Linked DNA regions of Homo sapiens: regions 2, 3 and 4 are each linked to region 1. The links are contacts of gene promoters, found by promoter capture Hi-C in blood cells and fetal thymus (Javierre and others, 2016). All regions are on one chromosome and are shown on one strand. Each heading gives the region's core, a stretch centred on a gene start or on the middle of the fragment in contact. The rest is flanking DNA. Distances are from core to core; before and after follow the strand shown. Region 1 holds the start of TLR9 (toll like receptor 9). Region 2 has its middle 16 kb from the start of SEMA3G. Region 3 overlaps DNAH1 (dynein axonemal heavy chain 1). Region 4 holds the start of ACY1 (aminoacylase 1).

Region 1 (2,700 bases), core at 156-2,655:
GATCCTGGGGATGCAGATAAAAGATCACTGCCCTTAAGAAGCTGACATTCCAGCAGGGGAATAAGACGATATACAATAAACCATGAAAGATCAATGATCCGGTGTGCTAGCAGTTAAAAAATGTTAGGACAAAGAGAAACATAGACCAGGCAAAGGAGCTCAGGAGTGCCAGATCTGGGGTGGGAGGTTTGTAAGAAGGCTGGATGGCCCTGTTGAGAGGGTGACATGGGAGCAGAGACATAATGGAGGCAAAGGAGGGGTCATATGAGACTTGGGGGAGTTTTCAGGCAGAGGGAACAGCACATCCCAAGGCCCTGAGGCAGGAGAATGCCCAGGGGCTACACAGTCAACTGCAAGCAGGCCAGTGGGCCTGGAGAGCACTCAGGGGAACAGCGGGTGGCAGGTCCCATAGGGCCTTGTTGGCCATCTGTGGACTGTGGCTTTGACTCCAGAGTCAGCCAGGGAGGGGTCTGAGCAGAGGAGGGACCTAGTGTGACTTAGGTTTGAACAGTTCCCTCTAGGGGCTGAATGTGACCAGCCCCTGGAGGGCAGAGAGCAGGGCAGGACAGCCAGAAGGGAGGTGGCACCTGCATGGGTCTAGGAGAGAGGATGGGGGCTGGTGGACATGGGGACGGTGGGCTGTGGGCACACCCTTCAGCATGGTGGACCCAGCAGAACTTGCTGAGGGGCCCGGGGTCACCCAAGGCTTTGGGCCCGAGGAATCTGAGTCTCCTCACCTAGATCAGAAGGAGAGTGGGAAGAACTGATGGGGAGGACTGGCTGGCGGCCCTGCTGGGCCAGCACACACCTGGCCTCTAGGAGCCCCATCTGGAGTGACGTGGTGTGTGCTCTGATGGGGCCCCAGGGGCTCTGGGAATGTGGAGGAGGAGGTCTTGTTTCCGGAAGATGTTGCAAGGCTGTGGTGAAGGCAGGTGCAGCCTAGCCTCCTGCTCAAGCTACACCCTGGCCCTCCACGCATGAGGCCCTGCAGAACTCTGGAGATGGTGCCTACAAGGGCAGAAAAGGACAAGTCGGCAGCCGCTGTCCTGAGGGCACCAGCTGTGGTGCAGGAGCCAAGACCTGAGGGTGGAAGTGTCCTCTTAGAATGGGGAGTGCCCAGCAAGGTGTACCCGCTACTGGTGCTATCCAGAATTCCCATCTCTCCCTGCTCTCTGCCTGAGCTCTGGGCCTTAGCTCCTCCCTGGGCTTGGTAGAGGACAGGTGTGAGGCCCTCATGGGATGTAGGCTGTCTGAGAGGGGAGTGGAAAGAGGAAGGGGTGAAGGAGCTGTCTGCCATTTGACTATGCAAATGGCCTTTGACTCATGGGACCCTGTCCTCCTCACTGGGGGCAGGGTGGAGTGGAGGGGGAGCTACTAGGCTGGTATAAAAATCTTACTTCCTCTATTCTCTGAGCCGCTGCTGCCCCTGTGGGAAGGGACCTCGAGTGTGAAGCATCCTTCCCTGTAGCTGCTGTCCAGTCTGCCCGCCAGACCCTCTGGAGAAGCCCCTGCCCCCCAGCATGGTAGGACAACAGCTCTCAGTCCCCTGGGGAAGGGGATATCCTGGGAAGGGGTGGGGAAAGAAGTGGGCTTGGCAGCTGCAAGCAACAGTGACGGGTTGTCACCCACATGGCCCTGGGGACACTCACTGAATCCTGAAGACTTCAGAGCCGAAGCCCTCTTCTTTTTTCTTTTTTTTTTTTTTTGAGACGGAGTTTCGCTCTTGTTGCCCAGGCTGGAGTGCAGTGGCTTGATCTCAGCTCACTGCAATCTCCACCTCCCGGGTTCAAGTGATTCTCCTGCCTCAGCCTCCCAAGTAGCTGGGATTATGGCTTGCGCCACCATGCCTGGCTAATTTTGTATTTTTAGTAGAGCCAGGGTTTCTCCATGTTGGTCAGGCTGGTCTTGAACTCCAGACCTCAGGTGATCTGCCCACTTCGGCTTCCCAAACTGCTGGGATTACAGGTGTGAGCCACCGTGCCCAGCCACTGAAGCCCTCTTCTGAGCAATGAGACCCAAACCCCCAGAGGGGACGAGGAGACTGAGGCACTGATGGAGCTGGGGCTGGAGCCTGGGTTTGGGTCTCACTGGGCCTGTAGCTTGGGGCTGGCTCTGTCTGGCACTTTGCAGGCCACCCCTCTCTCCATCTGTTCTGACCCATAAGGCAAAGGCTCTCGGGCTAGGTGAGGCAGGCAGAGAGTGATGGAGCTGTGCAGTGCCCTCTGGCCAGGGTCCCTGGGAGGCAGCCGGCCTGGGCCATAGTGGGAGACTCTCACACCTGCCTGAATCTTGGCCGAAGGAAAAGGAAGGGGTTGTGGGGTGGCTGGTGGAGGGCAGAGAGCGGATTTCAGGGCAGCTGGAGGGGAGGGAGCCAGCTGCCACCTTGCTCAGGAGCAGGAAGGGAAAGTCGGGGAGAGACCAGGGGGGGCCGTGGGCCACCTTGCCTGGCCTGGTATAGCCAGGGATTGGTTAAGTGAAAGCTGTAGATCATAAGTCTGGATTCTAGGTCTCAGTCCTGGTTCTGAAGCCTAATTCTGAGTCCAAGACTGGGTCTGAGACTGAGTTCAGGTTCCCCACAAGCCATGGGGGATGGGAATGGGGCTTGGCAGCCAGGAAGAACTTCTGCAGGTAGGGCTTGGAGAGAGGGGTTGGAAGATGCTAGAAGATGCCCATGAAGTGGAGTGGGTGGAGGTAGAGCTG
Region 2 (2,700 bases), core at 178-2,677, 200 kb before region 1:
CTTTACCCCGGAGAGTATGATGACCAGAGTACCCCCTAATCCACCCAAAAGGGCCTGTTTCACTGCTGTGAGGAATGACCAGGGCAAAGGGACAGTTGCAGACTGATAGGATTCCAAAGTGACTCAACAGAGGCCTGGAACAGAGTCCAGGTGTCTACCACCAAATAGAGGGGACTGGACTCTGGACACATGAAGCCCAGATTGATGGAGGGCGAGCGGGCTCTGCTCTCACAGATGAAGGCATGGGGAATGACGTGGCACACCAGCCACTTGCTCTGTGGACATGATCTCATCTGTTCACCCCCCCACTCCTGCCCCCAACTGATAAGAATCTGGTGATGTTTCCTGTAGTCCAAGGGTCTCAGACAATGGTGTGAACGGCTGGCCCTACTGGAAAGGACATTGTTCAGGGAAGAAAAAACAACACACCAGCACAAAGCCAGGGCAGGACCTGCTGAAATGTAAGGGCCTGTTTACAAACCCATGATTTCTAAGGGGAAGAACACAATGGAGAATTGTTTTGGCGAGGCTGGTGTCTCCTCCAGTAGGCTCCTGGGGGCTGGGGATGGCTTTGATGGTCCAGACAGGTCTCAGATGCTCTGAAAAGGATGGATACTAATGGCGCGGATGCCTTCCTGTTTATTAGGGGTGTGTGCAGGGCAGGGTCAAGAAGCCAGTTTACACCAAAGACAAGGGGAAGGGGCTCCTGGGGCTTACCCCTTCCATCTGGACCTCATGCTGTCATGTTGCTCAGGGATCCCAGGGTTAGAGCAGGTTTGCTAGGGAGAAGTGAGGGCAAGGGTTTTTTGTTTTGGGAAAAAAATCAGTTCTTCAGTTTTTCTGTCATTTTTTGGAAAAATGTACAAGCCATGACACCTTTGCAAATAGCCAGCTCCTTTGGAATGGAGCTCCCTGGCTTAGTCACTAGGGAGACTTCTCACACCTGGGGGCCCCCATGATGCTGTGACTGGGAGCACATGGGAAACTGATGCTGTCTCCCTGGGGTCAGGGCCAGTGGAGGTGCTGCTTCTCATAGCATCCTCCCACCCTGCCCATAGAGGCTAGAGCCTTTGAGCCACCGTTTGAGCCACCACCCAGAGGTCCTGATGGCAGTGAGTGTGCATTCGTGTGGACAGGTACCTGTGCATGTGTGCATGTGGGAGGAGGGTGGGGCAGAAAAGGAATAGAACCATATCACACATTCCCCCTTGGGACTGGCAGTCGCCATTTTTGGTGGAGGAGAGGGCATCTGGATGCCTCTCAATGAGTAATTGGGAGATATTTTTGGTGGGTTAGGAGAGCCACTTTGGGTCTGGAGAGACTATGAAGGCAGTCTTGTCTAAGGATTTGACCTGTGACGGGGAGCTTTCAAACTCATCTCTAACCCCAACAGGAACGTGCCTCATGAATAAACTCGAACAGATGTGTTTAGAACAATTGAGGCGCAATAAGTCTTATGTAATCCCAAAACAGAAGCAAGATTTTCATAAGCCTTTCCCAGCCTTCCAGGTCTGAGGGTTTATAATCTTCATCGACATGCTAACAGTGCCCTCTGGTGTTTGGCAGCAAAACACAGGCTTATGAATACAGGGTATGGAGCATCCATCAGTTCTGTAGACATTAAACTGCCTCTGAACGTGGAGTCCTGGGCCAGGCATCATGAGGGGAAGAAAGGTTAATAAGACAGACAGGTCCCTGGAGCTTCTGATCTAGCAGGAAAGACAGACCCATAACTGTAGGACAGACAGAGAATGACATGGGCTATAACAGGGGGTACAAACAGAGACAGTAAGAGTGCCTAGAGATGAAGAAGTAGCCCTTAGGCTGTGTTTAACAGGCTGAAGATGGATGCCAGGACTCTCCAGGCTGAGCACCCCAGGCCCGGGCCCAGTGTTCTGAGGCAGCCAGAGAAGAAGGCCTGTGGGTGGGATGTCCTGGGAGATGCAGCTATGGAAGGCCCTGTTTGTAGAAGGTCTTGAATGCCAATCTCAGCAGGGCCATCCTGAGCAAAGAGTTAGCACATGTTTTATGGTAACTGGCAGAAGGGAAAAGGGTGGATGTGTCAGAGAAGCAAGTGGACACAGGAAACCATGCAGACTTTTGCTGCCCATCCTATGAGGCATCAAGGTCTGAGCTGAGCACTGACAATGGGAAGGAGAGGAAGGCAAACATTTGAAAAACAGTCGAACTGACAACAAAGAGGTTGGCTGAACAGAGAGGGAAGCTGAAGGAAAATCTGAGGTTTCTGGCCTTAGTTTACGGTTCCCGTAAAGGTAATGATTAGAGGAAGGGGAGCAGGTGCTTTGGGAAAGTTTTATTTAACATCTATTTCTACTATCCCTAAGTGAACTGATTTGTCCCAGCTCCTAAGTTATGAAACAGTAATTAATTCTAATAAGACACATCAGTTATGAAAATAGGTATTAAAAATTTTAAACATGTGTTTGTCATGAAACAGGCATTTAAAAGAAGATGAGCTTGGGGCATCTTGCAGTGTCAGAAAGTAAAAAAGTGCTCAAAAACAAAACAAAACAAAACCAGACACACAGTGATGGGGATGTGTGAAAAGGACACATGAACACCCAGTGGCCAAAGCAATTTGAGCAACAAAATAAAGTATTATTACATTGTAACCCAAAGTCCAGGAGTCCATACTAAATGATTGAATAGGCTGTGCATGGTGGCTCACGCCTGTAATCC
Region 3 (2,700 bases), core at 22-2,521, 140 kb before region 1:
CCCTTGAGCTTCCTTCTAACATTCTCCCATAACATCTCTCCAGACCCGTCTTTCTGGCCACACCACCATGCTTTTTCCCCCAGCCTGTTTCTCTTCATTACACAGTAAGTGAGTTGGAAATAGTTAAATTAATCATTCTGCCCCATGGTGCCCAACCAAGAGGACTCCATCTAGACCCAACCCATAGACTAGCATATGTTCCAGAAATCTCGGACTTGGAGCTGCATGAAGAGGCTGGGCTTGACTTTGGGTCATTTCTATTTGGGAAGAGTTGAGTGCATTTCCAAAACCATGTGGGATAGTTGCTCTGATTGGGGGTGGGGAGCATTTTGGAAAGAAGGGTGTGTGGGAGCGCCGGCACCCAGGAGTGCACTGTGATGAACTGCCACTGCTTTTCCTGGTAACAGGCTGCATCTCTTCTAGCTCATAGATTTTGGTGGACTGCATCTGGCCAAAGGTAGTACTGATTACCCCTGGCCACAGTGATTGGTGTTCATGGATGAGCAGGTGACCCAGAGAAGGCCCATTAGGGTGACAACAGGGATTTTTTTCTGAAATCATGATGGAAGACAAACTAAGTTGCTAGCATGTCAGCCCAGAGGTGGGACTCGTCTCTGCTGCTGCAAAGTGGGGGCCTGTTTGGGAACCAAGCTGAACAGGAAAGCTCATCCACCAGCACTGGTGCCTGGGCCACCCCATCTGTCCTTGGAATCTGGGCTCAGCAAGCTGAGTGGAAGGATGGTGGTGCTGGGAGGCTCGGAGGGCCTGGCTGTCCTACTCTGGTCCCCACAAGGCCCAGGTGCACTTGCTCCCCAGCCTGGGGTTCTGAAGCTCTTGGTGCCCTAATGATCAAGGCCCTTGCACCTGAAGTAGCCACACAGGCATCTGTTCCTGGCTCCTGCTCCAGCGCTGCTGTGTACTGCATGAGCCTGGCCAGACCTTTAGCTACCTAGGACCTCGGTGTCCTCAGCTGACAAATGGGCATGTAACTCCTATCTCCAAGGGTTGCTGGGAGAAGCCGACAAGGTAATGCCTGTAAAGCACCGGGCATAGAGCCTGGCCCTCAGCAGGTGCCCTGGAGGCTGGGAGCAGGCAGAAGTTTTCAGACCCTGGAAACCCATCAGGGCAGGACCACACCTGGGAGCTGAGCTGCTCAGAAGACAGCTTGAAGGTGGTTGTGATCTTCTTAGCCAGCACACTGGCCTCATTAAAGCCAAAGGAATAGAGGGAGATCTCAGTGATCATGGCGTAATCTGGAACCATCATGGCCACGGGTCGGAAGAGCGCCTGGGACACACAGTGCACATGTGAACAGCAAACAGAGCTCACCCCCAGAGCACCCCCAGCTTCATCCGGCCCTCCTCCCTAACACGCTGGGACTCCCTGCTGCACCAAGCCTGCCACAGCTGAGGCTTTCACTCCCCTGAGACTGGTAGCTCTGCCATTAGAGTGGATCCTTGGTGTTGATCCAAACCTGCCCCCACATGACTCCCAGGAGATGCCCCTCTTGGCTCCTGTTTTCCTGTTTCTCCTGAAGGCCCAGGGTGAACAGGTCTCATTAGATTCCCCCTCCACACCACATCCATAGGCAGCCTGACTTCTCCCATGCCCTGAGGACAAGTCTGAGGCCCTGAGGCCTCCCCTCCATGGCTAAGGGGCTACCATAGGGAATCACAGTCCCTGGAGTCCAAGCAACTGTGTCCTTGCATAAGTGGCTTAGCATCTCTGAACTCAGGCTAGAGCTCTGGTGCTTCCTGGGCCACTCTGGGCCTGCACTTGCCTTCAGATTGTCAGGCAGCTCCGTGCGGCCAGCGTAGCCCGGGTTCATGGTGATAAACACTGCGCAGGATGGCACCAGTGGGATCTCCACACCCTCAAACATGAAGCGTTCCACCTGCAGTGGGGAGAGGCTGACTTGCCTGGGACTAGGGTGCCCAGCCTTGTCCCCTCCTCTGAGTGGGCCCCTTGTCCCCTGTTGATGCCCCTGTCCTGGCTGTAGCTGGTAGGCCAGGCCTGGACCCCTGATCATGGGTTGTATCCTCTCTCAGGATCTGGCCTGAAACCTCAGGCCCCAGTGGCTACCCATGGCCTTCCAGCTCCTGGCTTCAGGCCCTTGGAGGTCTCCACATCTCCTGCTTCCCACTCGCTCCACCCCCAATTCCCCAGCTCCAGCCAAGCTCAGCCTGACTAGGGGAAGTGGGGGAGGGGATAACTGCTAGCCTCTCAGCTCCTGTCCCCAGAACAAGGTCCCTGGCCGCCCTGCACGTGGCTAGAGAAAGGACCAATGCCTGGGGCTTTCCATAAAGGTCAGGATGTAATGAGGAGGGGACCCCTTCATCCCCCGCAGCTTGGCCTGGGAGCTGCCCACAGACTGGGGTTAGGGTGTGCCCCCGGGACAAGAGAGGCTGGACCCAGGGTGGACCTTAGCGCCTGGCTTCTCAGCCTGCAATGGGGAGCAGTATGGCGGCGTGAGTATGGCAGATCTGAGGGAGTAAGGTGGGTCCCCCGGGCTCACCCGCTGCTGCTGCGCCTTCTGGATGGTGGTGATCTGCTGCGCCACCACAGACAGCACCTCGATGTCGATGCGATTGAACTCGTCGAAGCAGGCCCAGGCCCCAGCACTGAGTGAGGCCGGAACATTGGATGGGGCACATGTGTTCAGAGCCCAATCTGGGCACCTCCCTCTGAGGGCCCCCTCCA
Region 4 (2,700 bases), core at 183-2,682, 240 kb after region 1:
CTTAAATATGGGAAACTATGGCACAGAGACATGAAGAGATTCACCCACCATCTCTCAGCTGATTAATCACAGAGGAGGAATTTGGACCCATGTACACAATTCCCAGCCACTAAGTTTTTTTTTTTTCTTTTCCTTTTTTTTTTTTTTTTTTTGAGACAGGGTCTCACTCTGTCACCAAGGCAGGAGTGAAGTGGTGCGATCTCGGCTCACTGCAGCCTCAACCTCCCAGGCTCAAGCGATCCTCCCACCTCAACCTCTGGAGTAGCTGGGACTACAGGTGTGCCACCATTCCTGACTAATTTTTGTATTTTTTCTGTAGAGACAGAGTCTTGCCATGTTGCTCAAGCTAGTCTTGAACTCCTGGGCCCAAGCAATCTGCCAGCCTCAACCTCCTGAAGTGCTGGGATAACAGGCAGGAGCCACCTCCCAGGCCCTAGCCACCAAGCTTGACTCCCTAAGGGCTGTGGCCTTTGTCCAGCCCCAGTGGGCTTCTGGAGGGCCTCTCCTTTCCCTGTGGCTGCCTCAGGCTTCCCCCACCACTCCTGCCCTGGAGAGTGAGGTGAAGTTTTTCTTTAACCAGCTGCCAGGAGTAACCTTGGTCAGCAGCAGAGTCTCTGGGGAAAGGGTTCCTCCCTAACCTGGAGGGGCTGCCTCAGTCTATTTACTTGGGGAATGGCTGGAGGGGTTGGGGAGCCATTTGGGACAGCAGAGTGGGGCTCAGCTGGGTGACAGGGGTTGGAGGCTGGTTTAGAGCACAGTCCCCGTCCCTTAGGCCCCGTCACAGGCTCTGGAACCACCGTCTTCTCACCATAGTCAGGCTTGGGCTGGACAGTGCGGATACGCAGGTACTGGCGGAAGAGCGTCACCGATGGGTGCTCCTCCTCGGGACCCTTGCTGGTCATGGCGCTGCGCGTGGTGAGCTGGGGGCAAAGTGAATGGCTAACTACCCCTCCAAGACCCTGGAAATGGTGAGCTCCTGCACACAGCCTGTCCCCACGGCGGCTCCCGGACTTCCCACAGGGGTAGGATACCGTGTTTCGGAGCCCCCATTAAGGAGCACCCATTCTGTTTCAGGCGCTGGGCTGTCTGCTTCCAGCACATTTCCTTATTTAATCCCCAAAAGAGCCCCATGAAGTTTGTGCTCAGAATGCCCACTTTACAGAGGAGAAAGCTGAGAGGCTCAGAGAGGTTCAAGGACAGCTCATAGAGTAGCTGAGCAAGGTTTGAACCCAGACTTGTACTCCCCCCGCCCTCCTAAAAAAAAAAAAAGGCAAAAACAAAAACAAAAAACAAACAAGAAAAACCCCAACGCCTCCCAGTTGCCCGGCTTTCAAGCCACGGAGCCCCAGTCCCTCTATCCCTCCCCAGGGCCCCCACCTCACTCTCCTGTCGCTGGGCTCACGCTCGCCTCTCAGCGCCCTTCCCTGACTGTGGCCTGGACTTAGGGTCCAGCGAGGTCGCCTGCGAGGTCGCAGGCTCAGGACCGCCCCGGTCCGCCCACCACGTGGCCGAGGCCGGATGTCGGGGCGGAGACCGAAGACCGTCAGTGAGGGCCGTCCCGGCGCCAGCGGCCGCGTCGGCGCGGATGTCCCCGCCCGCCTCTGGTTCGGGCCTCAGCGAGATTACTGGAGGATTAGATCCGGATCCCGTCCCCGGGCAGCGGCCGCCGCGGCCAGCGCCGCCCCGCGAGTTGCGAGCTCCGGGCTGGCCCTGCTCTGACAGGCTCGCCCCGCCCCACACGACACGCCTGCCACTCCTGCCCCCAGGTATGCGCCGGGAGCTCAGGACGGTCCCGTCCCCTAAGGGCGCCTCCTCCTTCAGCCCCCGGATAGGGCGGGAGGAAAGGGGGCCGCCCCGAGGCTCTCAAGATGCAGAGCTGCAAAGCCCTGGGCCTGCGCCCTCGCCCTCCTCGGCAAGTCTCCAACGGCTCCCCACTGCAGGCCTCAGCCCCTCGGGGAGGTCCTCCCTGACGCCTCAGCTCCACTTGTACTGAAGTTATTGGCCAATGTCTGTCTGCCCACACTGAACTCCAGGAGGCTGTGAGCTCCACTTCCTGCAAGGTTCTGCCCGGGGCCGTGCCGAGCCCGGACAGTGCCTAGAATGGGAATGAATGCATGGACAAGAGCACGTGTGACGGTTTAAGCGTGCCACTGCGTGTGCAGTCTATCAGTGGATATGATTGTGTATGTGACAGTGTGAGATGGTGGGTGGGTGTGATGAAGTCACTGTGAATGGATGTAATTGTGACCCTGGATGGACAGTGTGAGGAAACTGGCTCTTCTGCAGCCACCAGAGGGGGAGGCTAAACAGGCACAGGTGTACCACTGGCCCCCTGCAGGCCACAGCTGCAGTTGCCCACTTGTGCCCCAGCTGCCCTTTGTACTCCCAGCCAGGTCTGCCCTCTGCTCCAGGGGCTGAGTCAGCTTGGGGAAGGGTGAGGGACAAAGACTTCAATCTCTAGGCCAAGGAGGCACGCTGTGGGAAGGGTTCTGTCCCACCTTTCCTGAGGTTTAAGTCTTGGCTGCTCACACATAACATGGGGGCAAATGGACTTTAACTCATAACAATGCTGGATAATTCTTTATTTAGTTATTTTTTTGATACAGAGTCTCACTCTGTCATGCGGGCAAATAGATTTTAACTCACAACAATGCTGGCTAATTATTTACCTATTTATTCATGCGGGCAAATAGACTTTAA

The links. Contacts are between HindIII fragments. The CHiCAGO score rates a contact against its expected background, and 5 or more counts as called.
Region 2: a contact is called between a fragment that was not itself captured here and the fragment with the promoter of TLR9 in region 1, in 3 of 17 cell types (naive CD4 T cells, M2 macrophages and erythroblasts). The highest score is 5.3, in naive CD4 T cells.
Region 3: a fragment that was not itself captured here is called in contact with the fragment with the promoter of TLR9 in region 1 in 11 of 17 cell types (M0 macrophages, M1 macrophages, naive CD4 T cells and 8 more); the score reaches 8.1 in M0 macrophages.
Region 4: a contact is called between the fragment with the promoter of ACY1 here and the fragment with the promoter of TLR9 in region 1, in 1 of 17 cell types (M1 macrophages). The highest score is 5.3, in M1 macrophages.

The regions. Positions count from the first base shown.
Region 1 is chr3:52,224,350-52,227,049 of GRCh38, reverse strand. TLR9 (toll like receptor 9) reads left to right here and starts at 1,405. Exons shown (of 2, transcript NM_017442.4): 1 at 1,405-1,523. The coding sequence starts at 1,521. RefSeq lists enhancers at 272-771, 926-1,015, 772-1,273, 1,526-1,625. The HindIII fragment of the contact is 14,815 bases long and covers 1-2,700 here.
Region 2 is chr3:52,427,566-52,430,265 of GRCh38, reverse strand. No RefSeq gene overlaps it. Among named protein-coding and RNA genes, the nearest start is that of SEMA3G, 16 kb to the left of the region's middle. RefSeq lists a silencer at 133-293 and enhancers at 1,473-1,572, 1-2,300. The HindIII fragment of the contact is 5,128 bases long and covers 1-2,700 here.
Region 3 is chr3:52,361,582-52,364,281 of GRCh38, reverse strand. DNAH1 (dynein axonemal heavy chain 1) reads right to left here. Exons shown (of 78, transcript NM_015512.5): 30 at 2,516-2,621; 31 at 1,781-1,894; 32 at 1,138-1,287. Among named protein-coding and RNA genes, the nearest start is that of DNAH1, 47 kb to the right of the region's middle. RefSeq lists an enhancer at 1,438-1,991. The HindIII fragment of the contact is 7,102 bases long and covers 1-2,700 here.
Region 4 is chr3:51,982,267-51,984,966 of GRCh38, reverse strand. ACY1 (aminoacylase 1) reads right to left here and starts at 1,432. Exons shown (of 15, transcript NM_000666.3): 1 at 1,378-1,432; 2 at 809-920. The coding sequence starts at 902. It overlaps ABHD14A-ACY1 (ABHD14A-ACY1 readthrough), which reads right to left. Exons shown (of 17, transcript NM_001316331.2): 4 at 809-920. RefSeq lists a silencer at 1,398-1,847. The HindIII fragment of the contact is 7,715 bases long and covers 448-2,700 here.